Linked DNA regions of Homo sapiens: regions 2, 3 and 4 are each linked to region 1. Evidence: promoter capture Hi-C in human tissues and cell types (Jung and others, 2019). All regions are on one chromosome and are shown on one strand. Each heading gives the region's core, a stretch centred on a gene start or on the middle of the fragment in contact. The rest is flanking DNA. Distances are from core to core; before and after follow the strand shown. Region 1 holds the start of PRMT2 (protein arginine methyltransferase 2). Region 2 overlaps LSS (lanosterol synthase). Region 3 overlaps MCM3AP (minichromosome maintenance complex component 3 associated protein). Region 4 overlaps MCM3AP (minichromosome maintenance complex component 3 associated protein).

Region 1 (2,877 bases), core at 215-2,714:
ACAATCTTCACATTTAAGCATTCTACTGCCGGTGGCCACCTTCCAAGGCACAAGCCAAGCTCCATCACATCTGTGAGCTGACGCTTAGCTCTCTGTAATGCTCACATTCATTAAACACAGATTTTTAGGAAGTGGAACGGAAATTACCTGCGATTCACTTCTGGGACAGTCACCTGATGTTGCCATAGTTCTCTTAGGCTCTGCCTCATAACTGCTGATTTATTTCATTTTCTTTTCCATTTCTACTTTTAAAAAGAGAAGGAGACACAAAGTACTTGTTACATTGCTTAATAATTGAGTTCACTTAACTTCTAATGTGCATGATGTCCTCTACCAAATAGAAGTAAAATGTGTATGTGTGAAGATTAGTGTAGAAATGAAAATTTACAATACTTTACAGAGACAAAAGCATTTAAAAATCATAAACTTCAAATAGTGTGTTTTCTTCACTAGTCTGCAAGGTGTTAATCTTGTTCATTTGCTGAAGCCTGTTAGTTTCTGTTAGATCAGGTGTCGACTTAAGGCAATAAATCAGTATTCATTAATTTCTTAGAAGTGTGATAGCTTTAATTCCAATTAAAAGTCCCTACCTGGGACCTTACAGTGTTTCCACTAACAGGAACCAAGGTCTGCATCTTCCAGTCTTTTCCTTCTTCTCAATTCGTATTTTTCCAGTGATAGTGTAATCCACACACTGCTCTGGGATCAATGTGTTTTTAAAATTGCATAGCAATTCTTTGTTTAAAATGCATGCTTCACTTCTAAATCCAGACTTGAAGCTTATTTTTGTGATATTCGTAGTTACAAATGCTTACTGATTTGCATAATTATATTTTCATTGGAAGACCTGGGTCCAAACTGGGACGGGGTCGGAGTGGAGGCCGCAGTGCGCGCAGGACCCTGCCCTCCTAAGATGCCCTCGGGAGGAACAGGATCATGGAGGGTTGGAACAGGTGGCCAGTGAAGGGGGGTGAGAAGGGGGCAGGAAGCGAGAGGGCCACGCGTGGACGCAGGGGCACGAGAGGGTCAGGCTGGGACAGCGCCGCGAGCTTCGGGGCAGGGGCCGCCAGGCAGGTGGGCGTGGCCGCGAAGGGCGTGACAGAGATGGTGGTGGGGTGGGCGTGGCCGTAGAAGGCGCTGGACGGCGGGAGTGGCCGGGAAGGGGTGCGGCACGCAGGGAAGGGTGTGACGGGGACCGAGCTCCCGTTTGGACGCCAGGGAAAGTGGCTGAGATCGCGAAGGCGCTCGGAGGTCCCAAAAGGGGGCGGAGGCCTCTGTCCGCCAGCGACGCACACGCAGTGCGAGGACGCCTCACCTGGCCTGTCCTTCCTTACGTGCAGTCCAGCCATCTGAGCTGCCCATCAGGACACCTACCTCAATCGCGTTTCTCCGCTGAGTTCCGCGTCCACACCGCCAGCGCGGAGGGGTGGACGGTCCTTTCCAGGAGCCTGAGCCACCGCCCTCAACCCGCGCAAGCGCAGTGCACGCAGGCCGTCAGCCGGGAAGGCCCCGCCCAGGGCCCGGCGCCCCGCGCAGGCGCAGTCCTAAGACGTCCCCCATTCCAGGGAAGCCAAGCCACCGCCCTCGACTTGCGCCGGCGCGTCGCTCACAGATCGTCTGCAGCTGGGGCTGCGCCCCGCGCAGGCGCACTTCACATCTGCGCGTCCCGCGGTCTTGCGAGGCGAGGCCAGGTTCTCCATGTGTGGAGCTCGTCCCCAATCGCCCAGCCCAGCCGCGGGGTTGGGGGGCTCGGCTTGGGGTCCGACCCAGAGGGGCGCGGGGCAGGAGTCCGACCTGGGGCGGGGGGCGGGTTTGGGCCATTCACGGCTTGGGAAGCGACAACCCCTACGAGCCACAAAATGGCTGGGGCTTGGGGGACCCCCCACCTCCTCTGTCTTCCCGCAAATAATTCAGTTAACTTTCCCATCCGCGCTGCGCAGTGTGCGCCCTCTGCCTTTCTTCTGGATAAGTGGAAGCAGAATGATGACGTTTCTGTTGTGGGGAGAGGAAGTTTGGGGTTAAGGAGAAATGGGTGGCGCTAATGCCTGTAAAACATAAAATTCGAAGCCCCCCCTCCCCCGCAGCCGTCTGACTGGACTCCCTCCTTTACCAGGGGACCCTGAAGTTCAACCTGAGAGACTATTCTGGCCTCGAAGGGAAGTAAGAGTTGGACATGCCTTTTTACACTCCTCCAGCATTAACATCAAGGCAGACCTTAAGTCTGATTTAAAAAAAAAAATGTGGAAGGAAAATAAATTTGGGGGCCGCAAAATCATTAAGCTTAAAAGGAAAAGTCAAGTTGGGAACTGCTTAGGGCAAACCTGCCTCCCATTCTGTTCAAAGTCATCTCTCAGCTCACTGAGATAAATGCGTATCTGATTGCCACCTCTGGAGAGGCTAACCAGAAACTCAAGGGAATGCAATGATTTGTCTCATATTTACCTATGACCTGGAAGCTCCCTCCTGCCTTTGCTTTGAGTTGTCCCGCCCTTCCGGACCAAACCAATGTTCATCTTACATATATTGATTGATGTCTCATGTCTCCCTAAAACGTATAAAACCAAACTGTGCTCTGACCACCTTGGGCACATGTCATCAGGGCCTCCGACGGCCGTGTCATGGGCGTGCATCCTTAAATTCAGCAAAATAAACTTCCTAAGTTGACTGAGATCTGACTCAGATATTCAAGGTTCACATTTTGGTAACCACAAAGGGATTCTGAGTAGAGGTGCCACTGACCTTTGACAAATCTGTCAGTCCTTAGTACCAGCTTGAGCTATCTTTATGGCTCAAACCAATAGGACAATTTGCTGAGGCCTGGAAGCACCCCCTCCAGAGAATCCCTGATCTACCCAGATTTAGTCAAGATCTAGTTTA
Region 2 (2,877 bases), core at 164-2,663, 430 kb after region 1:
TGCCTGTTCTCAGCACCTGGGAGGATTTCAGTCTGGGTTATTATGAAGCATCTACTGTGAACACTCTTGTACTTATCTTTTGGGGGCACCTGGGTACCCATTTCTCATGGTCACGTACCTAGGAGTGGCATTGCTGTGTTAGAGGGTACGTTATAGGGTATGTGATTTTTGTAGGTTCTTCTTTATCCTATCACGATTACATTTTTTTACTTTTGTTCAACCTGGTGTAGACTCACCTTGGTCACAATGCACTGTCCTTTTTATATATTGCTAGATTCAATTTGAAGAATATTTTGTTAGGATTTTAGCAACTCTGGTTACAAGAGACGCTGGTCTATAATTTTTTTTTCTTTATAATGTTTTTGTCAGGTTTTCCTGTTAAGATGATGCTGGACTTAGAAAAGCAGTTGGAAAATGCTTTTAAAATACTCTTTGGAAGAATTTATGTAATATTCATAATATTTCTGCCTTAAATGTTTGGGAAAAATTACCGGAAATGCCAGTTGGGCCTGGAGATTTCTTTGAGGAAAGTTTTTAAATTAGAAGTTCAATTTCTTTCTTTCTTTCTTTCTTTCTTTTTTTTTTGAGATGGGTTCTAGCTCTCTCACTCAGGCTGGAGTGCGGTGTAATTTCTTTAATAGTTTATAGGACTGAGCAGATTTTCCATTTTTGTATCAGTCTGGGGAGTCTTCCCATTTCCACTCAGCTTTACACTGATTCATGCAAAGTTGTTCAGTGTCCTCTTAGATGGCTCTGAGCCCAACGCTGACATCCTCCTCTTCCTTCTGAGAATCTTATACTGATCTTTTGAAAAAAAAAAAATCTTAGTCTTTGATTCTGTTTTTAAAGAGACTTTATTTTTGGTTTCATCAATTTCTATTGTTTGTTATTTTCTTTCTTTCTTAATTTTTTTGAGATGGAGTCTTGCTCTGTTGCTGAGGTTGGGGAGCAGTGGCGTGATCTCAGTTCACTGCAACCTCCGTTTCCGGGGTTCAAGCGATTCTCCTGCCTCAGCCTCCCGAGTAGCTGGGACTACAGGTGCTGACCACCATGACTGGCCAATTTTTTGGTATTTTTATTAGAGACAGGGTTTTACCATGTTGTCCAAGCTGGTCTTGAACTCCTGACCTCAGGTGATCCACCTTCCTTGGCCTCCCAGAGTGCTGGGATTACAGGTGTGAGCCACCACACTGGCCTTTGCTATTTTCTTTCTCCTTTATTTTTCTAACTTGAATACTTAGATATTTGATTTTCAGGCTTTTATTGAAATATGAATTTGAGGCTATAAATGAGTTTTGAGATATCATTCAGTTAAATGTGTGTTCTGGTGCTTGCTGTGGTAGCACAGATACTAAAAGTGTTTTCTGTTTCTACTGTTCTTCTCTGGCCCATGAGTTATGTGGGAGTATGCTGCTTCATTTACAATCTGAGAATGTTCTGGTGTGGTTTTTTTGGAAGCCGTGGATGGAGCAGGGGTTTTCTTGTGCTTCACAGGTGCAGCTAGGAGGGCACTGTGTCCAGGGTCTTCTGTCGGCCTGGCGTGGCCCTCGGCCATGTGCTGCTCTGCGGCATGAGGTGGGCGTGAGTTGTCCTCAGCCACATTTAGAGAATTGGCCTTTTAAAAAATAGATCATCTTTTAAAAATCACTGTAATAAAAGTAAAGCAGGTTCTTTGCAAACAAGACTTGCAAAATACAGAGAAGCGCAAAGAAGAAGCTAAGTCGCCCCTCCTCGCCCCTGAAGGAGAATCTGCTGTTGCTGTTTGGTCTCCACATTTCCATGGCGGCTTGCTGCCCCTTTCACGCCTGGCCCACTTTGTGCCTGGTGAGGTTTCTAAAAGCCCCACCATTGAGCGCGCTCCTCCAGCACGAGCAGTAATGGCACAGGTGTTGTGTCATTTTACTCAGTAGCCTCTGGGTTATTTTTCAGTTTTCCTTGTTGTTTTTTAGCTTTTCCCCATTTTAACCTTAACTGGTATTTTCTTGTTAAATATTTATTCATGACCATTATTATTCCCTAGAGCCACATGGCTTGGGGTCCACCTGCCTGGGTCAGCCCCCATCCCTGCCCCTTCTGGCTGTCTGACCTGGCCTGGTGACTTCTCTTCTCTGCTCATCTCTCTCCCTGCCTGAGTGGGCAACAGTACAGCCTCACAGAGTGGTGGGATTGTGTGAGATGCCACAGGGAAGCACATGTCAGTTGTTGTCACTGTGTAGAACAATGAGTCCCGGATGTGGCCCGCAGGGGAGCAATGGTGACTTAATCGCGGGCTTCCTCTGCATTTCTTTGGTGACTTCCAAGCTAGAACATTCTTTTTTTGTTTATTTGTTTGAAGCAGGGTCTCACTCTGTTACCTAGGCTGGAGTGCAGTAGCAAAATCATGGCTCACCACAGTCTCAAACTTCCGGGCTCAAGCAATCCTCCCACCTCAGCCTCCTGAGTAGCTGGGACTACAGGTGCATACCATCACCTGTGGCTAATTTTTTAAATGTTTTGTATTTTTTAAATGTTGCTCAGGCTGGTCTTGAACTGCTGGGCTCAAGCAATCCTCCCACCTCGGCCTCCCCAAATGCTGGGATTACAGAGTGAGCCACCACACCCAGCCATTTTTAAAATTTTCACCAGGAAGTTTTTTCTTTCATTTTTAAGCACAGTAAGTATTTGTGTATTATGTTACAGATATTTTCCCCTCAATTTCTTTGTTCTTTTTATCTCTTTAGGGAGTATGAACATAAGTTTTTAACTTTTAAATGGTTAAATATATTAGTGTGATTTTTATATTAAGATTTTATTTTATTTATTTTTTTTTTTTTTGAGACGGAGTCTCGCTCTGTCGCCCAGGCTGGAGTGCAGTGGCGGGATCTCGGCTCACTGCAA
Region 3 (2,877 bases), core at 271-2,770, 380 kb after region 1:
TTTTTTTTTAGATGGAGTCTCACTCTGTCGCCCAGGCTGGCGTGTGGTACACTTTGTTCACTGCAACCTCCACCTCTCAGGTTCAAGCAATTTTCCTGCCTCAGCCTCCCAAGTAGCTGGGATTACAGGCGCACACCACCACGCCCAGCTTAGTTTTGTATATATTTTGTAGAGACAGGGTTTTGTGATGTTGCCCAGGCTGGTCTCAAACTGGGCTCAAGCGATCCACCTGCCTTGGCCTCCCAAGGTGCTGGGATTACAGGCGTGAGCCACTACGCCCAGCTGGTGAGTCATTTCTTAAAATAGCTGTCTTCTCATTTGCTAAGTTCGTATGTCACTTAAGAATTCTTAAGGTCTCAGGTATGAGAAATTTGATCTGTAAAAAACATGTATTTCAAACTCTAGGGATGTTTTCTATTGCTGAAAATCTTAATGCTTCAGAATTTTAAGTCACATTAGAATGAGCCAGTTCCATTCTAATGGAATGGAGTGCCCCCTCCTCCTGCCCAATTAAGAACAAGTAGAAGCCGGGAGCAGTGGCTCATGCCTGTAATCCCAGCAACTGGGGAGGCTGTGGAGGGAGGATTGCTTGAGCCCAGGAGTTTGAGGCCAGCATGAGCAACATAGTGAGACCCTTTGAGTGACACTCTACAAAAAAAATGGAAAGATTAGCTGGGCATGGTGGCCCGTGCCTGTAGTCTCAGCTACTGAGGCAGGTTTGCTTGCTGCGGTGAGCCAAGTTTGTGCCATTGCACTCTAGCTTGGGCGACAGAGCGAGACCCTGGCTCAAAAAAAAAAAAAAAAAAAAAAGAACGAGTACAGATCGTTGCTCCATTTTAAAACAACAGCCTGTTTTGTGCAGATCAGCTTCATAGTAAGATGTGGTATTTGTGGACCTAGGTCTGTGTGATATTTTTCTTTCTTCTTTTCCTGAAAGTCTTTATAATTCAAATATAGAATTAGATTCTTCAAGTGTTTTTTTTGTTTTTTGTTTTTTTTAAATCTGTAGAATTCTAGCAAATTGGTTAAAAGTCAAGTTCATGGGAGATGAAGGCTCAGTGGATGACACATCCAGCGATGCTGGTGGGATTCAGACGCTTTCGCTTTTCAACTCACTTAGCAGCAAAGGGGATCAGATGATTTCTGTTAACGTGTGTATAAAGGTGAACTATAATTACTTTGTGTTTACTTCTGTGTTTTCATTACTTTCACTTACTCCCAGATATCACTGGAACCATGCAAATACTGCTTATTCCCTAATGTGGTTTTGAAAGACTGGGAGGCTCAGAAGCAAGTATTATGTCTGTCCGTACATGTCGTTTAAAAAATTTTTTTAAGCCAGTCAAATTGAGTAGTGGGCACCAAGCCCAGCCTGCTTCTTTACTTTTTCTGTTTTAATACTATATATTGGATTTCCTAAATGTAATATGTACACAAAACTTTTAAAAAATGAGGAAATGTAAAAGAAGTATAAAGATGATGATAAGAGCCATCCATGCTCTTGCCATTCTGAGGTAACAGTAACTTCTTGGTGCAAATTCTTCCCTTTTCCTGGGATTACAAAGTCACATTTCATCTACTGGAAATTAGTTTACTGCTGCTGTTACCTTCATTTTCATTTAAGAAAGTAACACTTCCGTGTACTTAAAAAGAAGTCAAATAATGCCACCCACGTGATTTAAAATGAGACATAGTAGCTCCTCCTTCCTCTCTTAACTCCTTTCTTCAGGGCTGCATTTTTCTCCTGTTTCCAGATCACACACTTACACAGCCATTTCTCAGTTTATCCATTTAAATGTTCTCTGCTGACTTCCCATTAATATAAATGTATTAGTTACCTTATTCCTAAATAACTAATTACTCCTAACATAGCAGCTTAAAATAATGTCTGTTATCATGGTATCTGTGGGTCAGGAATCCAGGTGTAGCTTAGCTTGGGTCTTCTGGCTCAAGGTTTCTCATGGGTGGAAATGAAAATGTTGGCTAGGATTGTGGCCTCATCTGAAAGCTTGACTGAAGGGTATCTACTTCCCAGCTCACTCTAGTGAGCTTGTGTCAGGATTCACTTCCTTGCAGGCTGTGGCCAAAGACTTCCTCAGTTCCTGCCACATGGGCCTCTCCCCAGCTGACAGCATGGCAGCTGGCTTTCATCAGAGTGAGCAAGAGGTGAGCCTAGATGGAAGTCTGAGTGTGTTTATAACCTAAACTTAGAAGTGACATCCTGTTGCTTTTGTTGGCTTCTGTCTGTCAGAAGTGAGTGGCTAGGCCCAGCTCACGGGGCAGGAGATCACACGTGGGCATGAACACTAGGTGGAATCAGGGGGGTCCTCTTGGCCACTGCATACCATACTAGGTACAGCGTGGCCTCTTGTGCCATGGTCCTTGCTCGGCCTTCCACGTCTTCCCGGGATAGCTACACTAGCACTTTGTATTACTTCAGTGAGTGGGGTCATATTTTGATGGCTCTGTGACTGCTATTCACCTCAGAACCAGTAGTGTTCTATAACCACAATTATTTTTTTCCTGCAAGAAATAGAGTTGCCTTATTGTCTCACTTAATGTAGTTCTCTTTATCTCTTTAATTTTACTGGGGGGCCGTATATATCTCGGTAGAGTTTTCCAAATGTTCTGTCACTTCACTTGATCCATCCATGTTCCCTCTGTCCTGGAACTCTCATCTGTGGGCTGGTCTCCATCCAGGCAACATGTGCCTTAGTGCCATCATTGTGAGCATATGTGTCCCTGCTCCTCCACTTGGAAGCTCTGTGACCTTGGGCAAGTTCCCTAGCGTCTCTGCCACCTGTGTATGGGTACTGTTACTTATTATCCCTATTTTACTCAGAGACGGTAAAATAAACTGCCCAAGCCTCTGCAGGT
Region 4 (2,877 bases), core at 212-2,711, 360 kb after region 1:
ATTTTCTTCAGATCCTAAGAATTAAATTACTGCATCAGAGGGTATGACCTTTCCTGAACATTATCCATGTATCTTCCCAAATTGTTGCCCCAGAAAGCTGCACCAATATAGATCCTTTTGGACTTTGTGAATTTTGCTTATGGGCTTCTCCTCTTCCTGGCTGGTGGCTTTATACACCCTTCGCCTGGTGCGGGGTCCCCAGCCCAGCAACTCGTGTCACTGTAGGGCCCCTGCCCCAGGAGAGGCACATGCCCAGGGCCTTGTCCTGTGTACATCTCTGCCTCTTCCCTTGGCCACGTCTTCAGCCTCCTTTTGAGGTGGGAGATGCAATTCCAGGCCCCAGGTGGGCAGCCAGCCCCTGATGCTGTGTCCTCAGCAGTCCTCACCGCCTGTCTCTGTTTCACTTCTGCTCTGTGTAGACTTAATCTGGTGTGTGAGCGGGCCTGAGACCTTTTAAGTGCTTGAGGCCCTTCCCTGTCCCGTCTCTCTGCTTTGGAGGCTAGCAGATGTGCCTTCACTTAACATTCCTCCTGTTTGTCATGACGCACTCATATCTTAACTCCTTGTCATATTTGCCAAAATCAAATTTCTCTATTTGTCTTTGAATTTTGATTGTCACCTTTTAACAGAAATTTTATGTTGAAAAAATATATTCTCAAATACTGATCTTGTGTGGGTGTGTATGTGATTTTCCCCCTCATTTTCAGGCATAACTATGCCTGGCCCAAGGTATGCCACATGGGCATCCTGTCTCGGCTTCATGTCTCTAGGTGGACCACGCAGCAGCTGTGAAAGAGTACAGTCGGTCCTCGGCGGATCAGGAGGAGCCCCTGCCCCACGAGCTGCGGCCCTTGCCAGTGCTCAGCAGGACCATGGACTACCTGGTGACCCAGATCATGGACCAGAAGGAGGGCAGCCTGCGGGATTGGTATGACTTCGTGTGGAACCGCACGCGTGGCATACGGAAGGTATTGGCTGCCTCCAACCTGGATGCTAAAAAATCCACGCAAATTCCAAAGTCAAACTGATATTTTTATTACTCTGTTATATATTTTATCTGTAACAAAAATGTACTTTTGTGGGCCAGGTGCAGTGGCTCAGGCCTGTAATCCCAGCACTCTGGGAGGCCGAGGTGGGTGGATCACCTGAGGTCAGGAGTTTGAGACCAGCCTGGCCAACATGGTTAAACCCCATCTCTACTGAAAATACAAAAATTAGCTTGGCGTGGTGGCACACGCCTGTAGTCCCAGCTACTCGAGCGGCTGAAGCAGAATTGCTTGAACCTGGGAGGCGGAGGTTGTGGTGAGCCAAGATGACACCACTGCACTCCAGCCTGGCTTCTGTCTCAAAAAAAAAAACAAACCCCAGGACTTTTATTTAAGTCACTACAAAGTCCTATTAAAATGTGCATCATGGGCTTTGTTTCAAATTGAAAAGTGAGAAATTGAGGTCGTAGCATGATCCTTCTCACGGTTGCCTCTTTGCATGGGAATGTGTGTGTGATCCTCCCCCTCGCCTGTGGCCAGGATATCACGCAGCAGCACCTCTGTGACCCCCTGACGGTGTCCCTGATTGAGAAGTGCACCCGGTTTCACATCCACTGTGCCCACTTCATGTGTGAGGAGCCCATGTCCTCCTTTGATGCCAAGATCAATAATGAGAACATGACCAAGTGCCTGCAGAGCCTGAAGGAGATGTACCAGGACCTGAGAAACAAGGGTGTCTTCTGTGCCAGCGAAGCGGAGTTCCAGGGCTACAATGTTCTGCTCAGTCTCAACAAGGGAGACATCCTAAGGTGAATTTTCACATCCAAAAGTTGTCCTAAGGTGGCTGAAAAGGCAGGCTTTAAACAGGAGAAGAGCTTTCAGGAGTGGCAGTAGCCAATAGTGCAGCATTCTGTCTGGTAGCAGATGTTGGGATGATAGTAGAGGACCTTGGTCTGGCTTTGCAGTCGGCTGAGCTGAGCTGGGGGAAGAGCGATGGGGGTGTGCCCTGGGACCAGCACATCTGACGTAGGCCCCACATGTTCATTTCTGAAAATAGTTTCTCCTCACCAGTGAGAAAATGAGGAAGGAATCCTCCTCATGAGACAGGTGAGTGAACCAGGAGAGGGAGTTCCAGGTGCCCTGCAAGGTTGTTAGCAGTTCCCTGTTCCCAGATAGTTTTGTCAAAGATCTCAGAATAAGAGAGGAAAAAATTATGTAAAACAAAAATGCGAAGAATGGGGTAGTGAGAATGAATGAATGTAAAACCCTGGTCTGATCCATAATTAGTCACTTACATGCGAAGTCTGGCGAGCTCTCTGGCCCTCTGCTTGTGGTGGACCCTCTGCTTGTGGTTAAGCTGGACTTATGGTGGACAGTGTCCCCTTTAGTTCTAAGAATCCCCTATCAATGGTGAACCTCTTTTTTTTTTCTTTGTATTTTCCTCAAGAACTGTGTGACAGAATATCTAGATGTGTGGTTGATTTTAATTTTTTATTTCATTTTATTTTTGAGACCGAGTCCTGCTCTGTTGCCCAGGCCGGAGTACAGTAGTGCGATCTTGGCTCACTGCAACCTCCACCTCCTGGGTTCAAGCGATTCTCTTGCCTCAGTCTCCTGAGTAGCTGGGATTACAGGCACATACCACCATGCCCGCCTCATTTTTTTGTATTTTTAGTAGAGACAGGGTTTCACCATGTTGGCCAGGCTTGTCCGGAACTCCTGACCTCAGGTGATCCACCTGCCTCGGCCTCCCAAAGTGCTGGGATTACAGTTAGAGTCTCCATGCCCGGCTGATTTTAAATTTTAAAATTAAGCCTTGTATAGCCTGGGCAACATGGTGAGACCCTTCCACAAAAATGAATAAATAAATAAAATTAACCAGGTGTGGTGA

The links. The method cuts DNA at HindIII sites, captures the fragments that hold promoters and counts their contacts. A contact is called where the count stands out against the background at its distance.
Region 2: a contact is called between a fragment that was not itself captured here and the fragment with the promoter of PRMT2 in region 1, in 2 of the 25 tissues and cell types used here (hippocampus and spleen).
Region 3: a contact is called between a fragment that was not itself captured here and the fragment with the promoter of PRMT2 in region 1, in 1 of the 25 tissues and cell types used here (lymphoblastoid cells).
Region 4: a contact is called between a fragment that was not itself captured here and the fragment with the promoter of PRMT2 in region 1, in 1 of the 25 tissues and cell types used here (dorsolateral prefrontal cortex).

The regions. Positions count from the first base shown.
Region 1 is chr21:46,634,261-46,637,137 of GRCh38, reverse strand. It overlaps PRMT2 (protein arginine methyltransferase 2), which reads right to left and starts at 1,464. Exons shown (of 12, transcript NM_206962.4): 1 at 1,375-1,464; 2 at 591-699; 3 at 148-242. The coding sequence starts at 186. RefSeq lists silencers at 1,046-1,595, 1,706-1,925 and an enhancer at 1,696-2,366. The HindIII fragment of the contact is 3,678 bases long and covers 1-2,877 here.
Region 2 is chr21:46,202,331-46,205,207 of GRCh38, reverse strand. The region is part of intron 17 of LSS (lanosterol synthase); the gene reads left to right. Among named protein-coding and RNA genes, the nearest start is that of SNORD159, 9.6 kb to the right of the region's middle. The HindIII fragment of the contact is 6,573 bases long and covers 1-2,877 here.
Region 3 is chr21:46,249,815-46,252,691 of GRCh38, reverse strand. MCM3AP (minichromosome maintenance complex component 3 associated protein) reads left to right here. Exons shown (of 28, transcript NM_003906.5): 20 at 1,010-1,163. It overlaps MCM3AP-AS1 (MCM3AP antisense RNA 1), which reads right to left. Exons shown (of 4, transcript NR_110565.1): 4 at 991-2,877. Among named protein-coding and RNA genes, the nearest start is that of MCM3AP-AS1, 22 kb to the right of the region's middle. The HindIII fragment of the contact is 8,485 bases long and covers 1-2,877 here.
Region 4 is chr21:46,271,479-46,274,355 of GRCh38, reverse strand. It overlaps MCM3AP (minichromosome maintenance complex component 3 associated protein), which reads left to right. Exons shown (of 28, transcript NM_003906.5): 7 at 771-968; 8 at 1,527-1,795. Among named protein-coding and RNA genes, the nearest start is that of MCM3AP, 13 kb to the left of the region's middle. The HindIII fragment of the contact is 8,173 bases long and covers 1-2,877 here.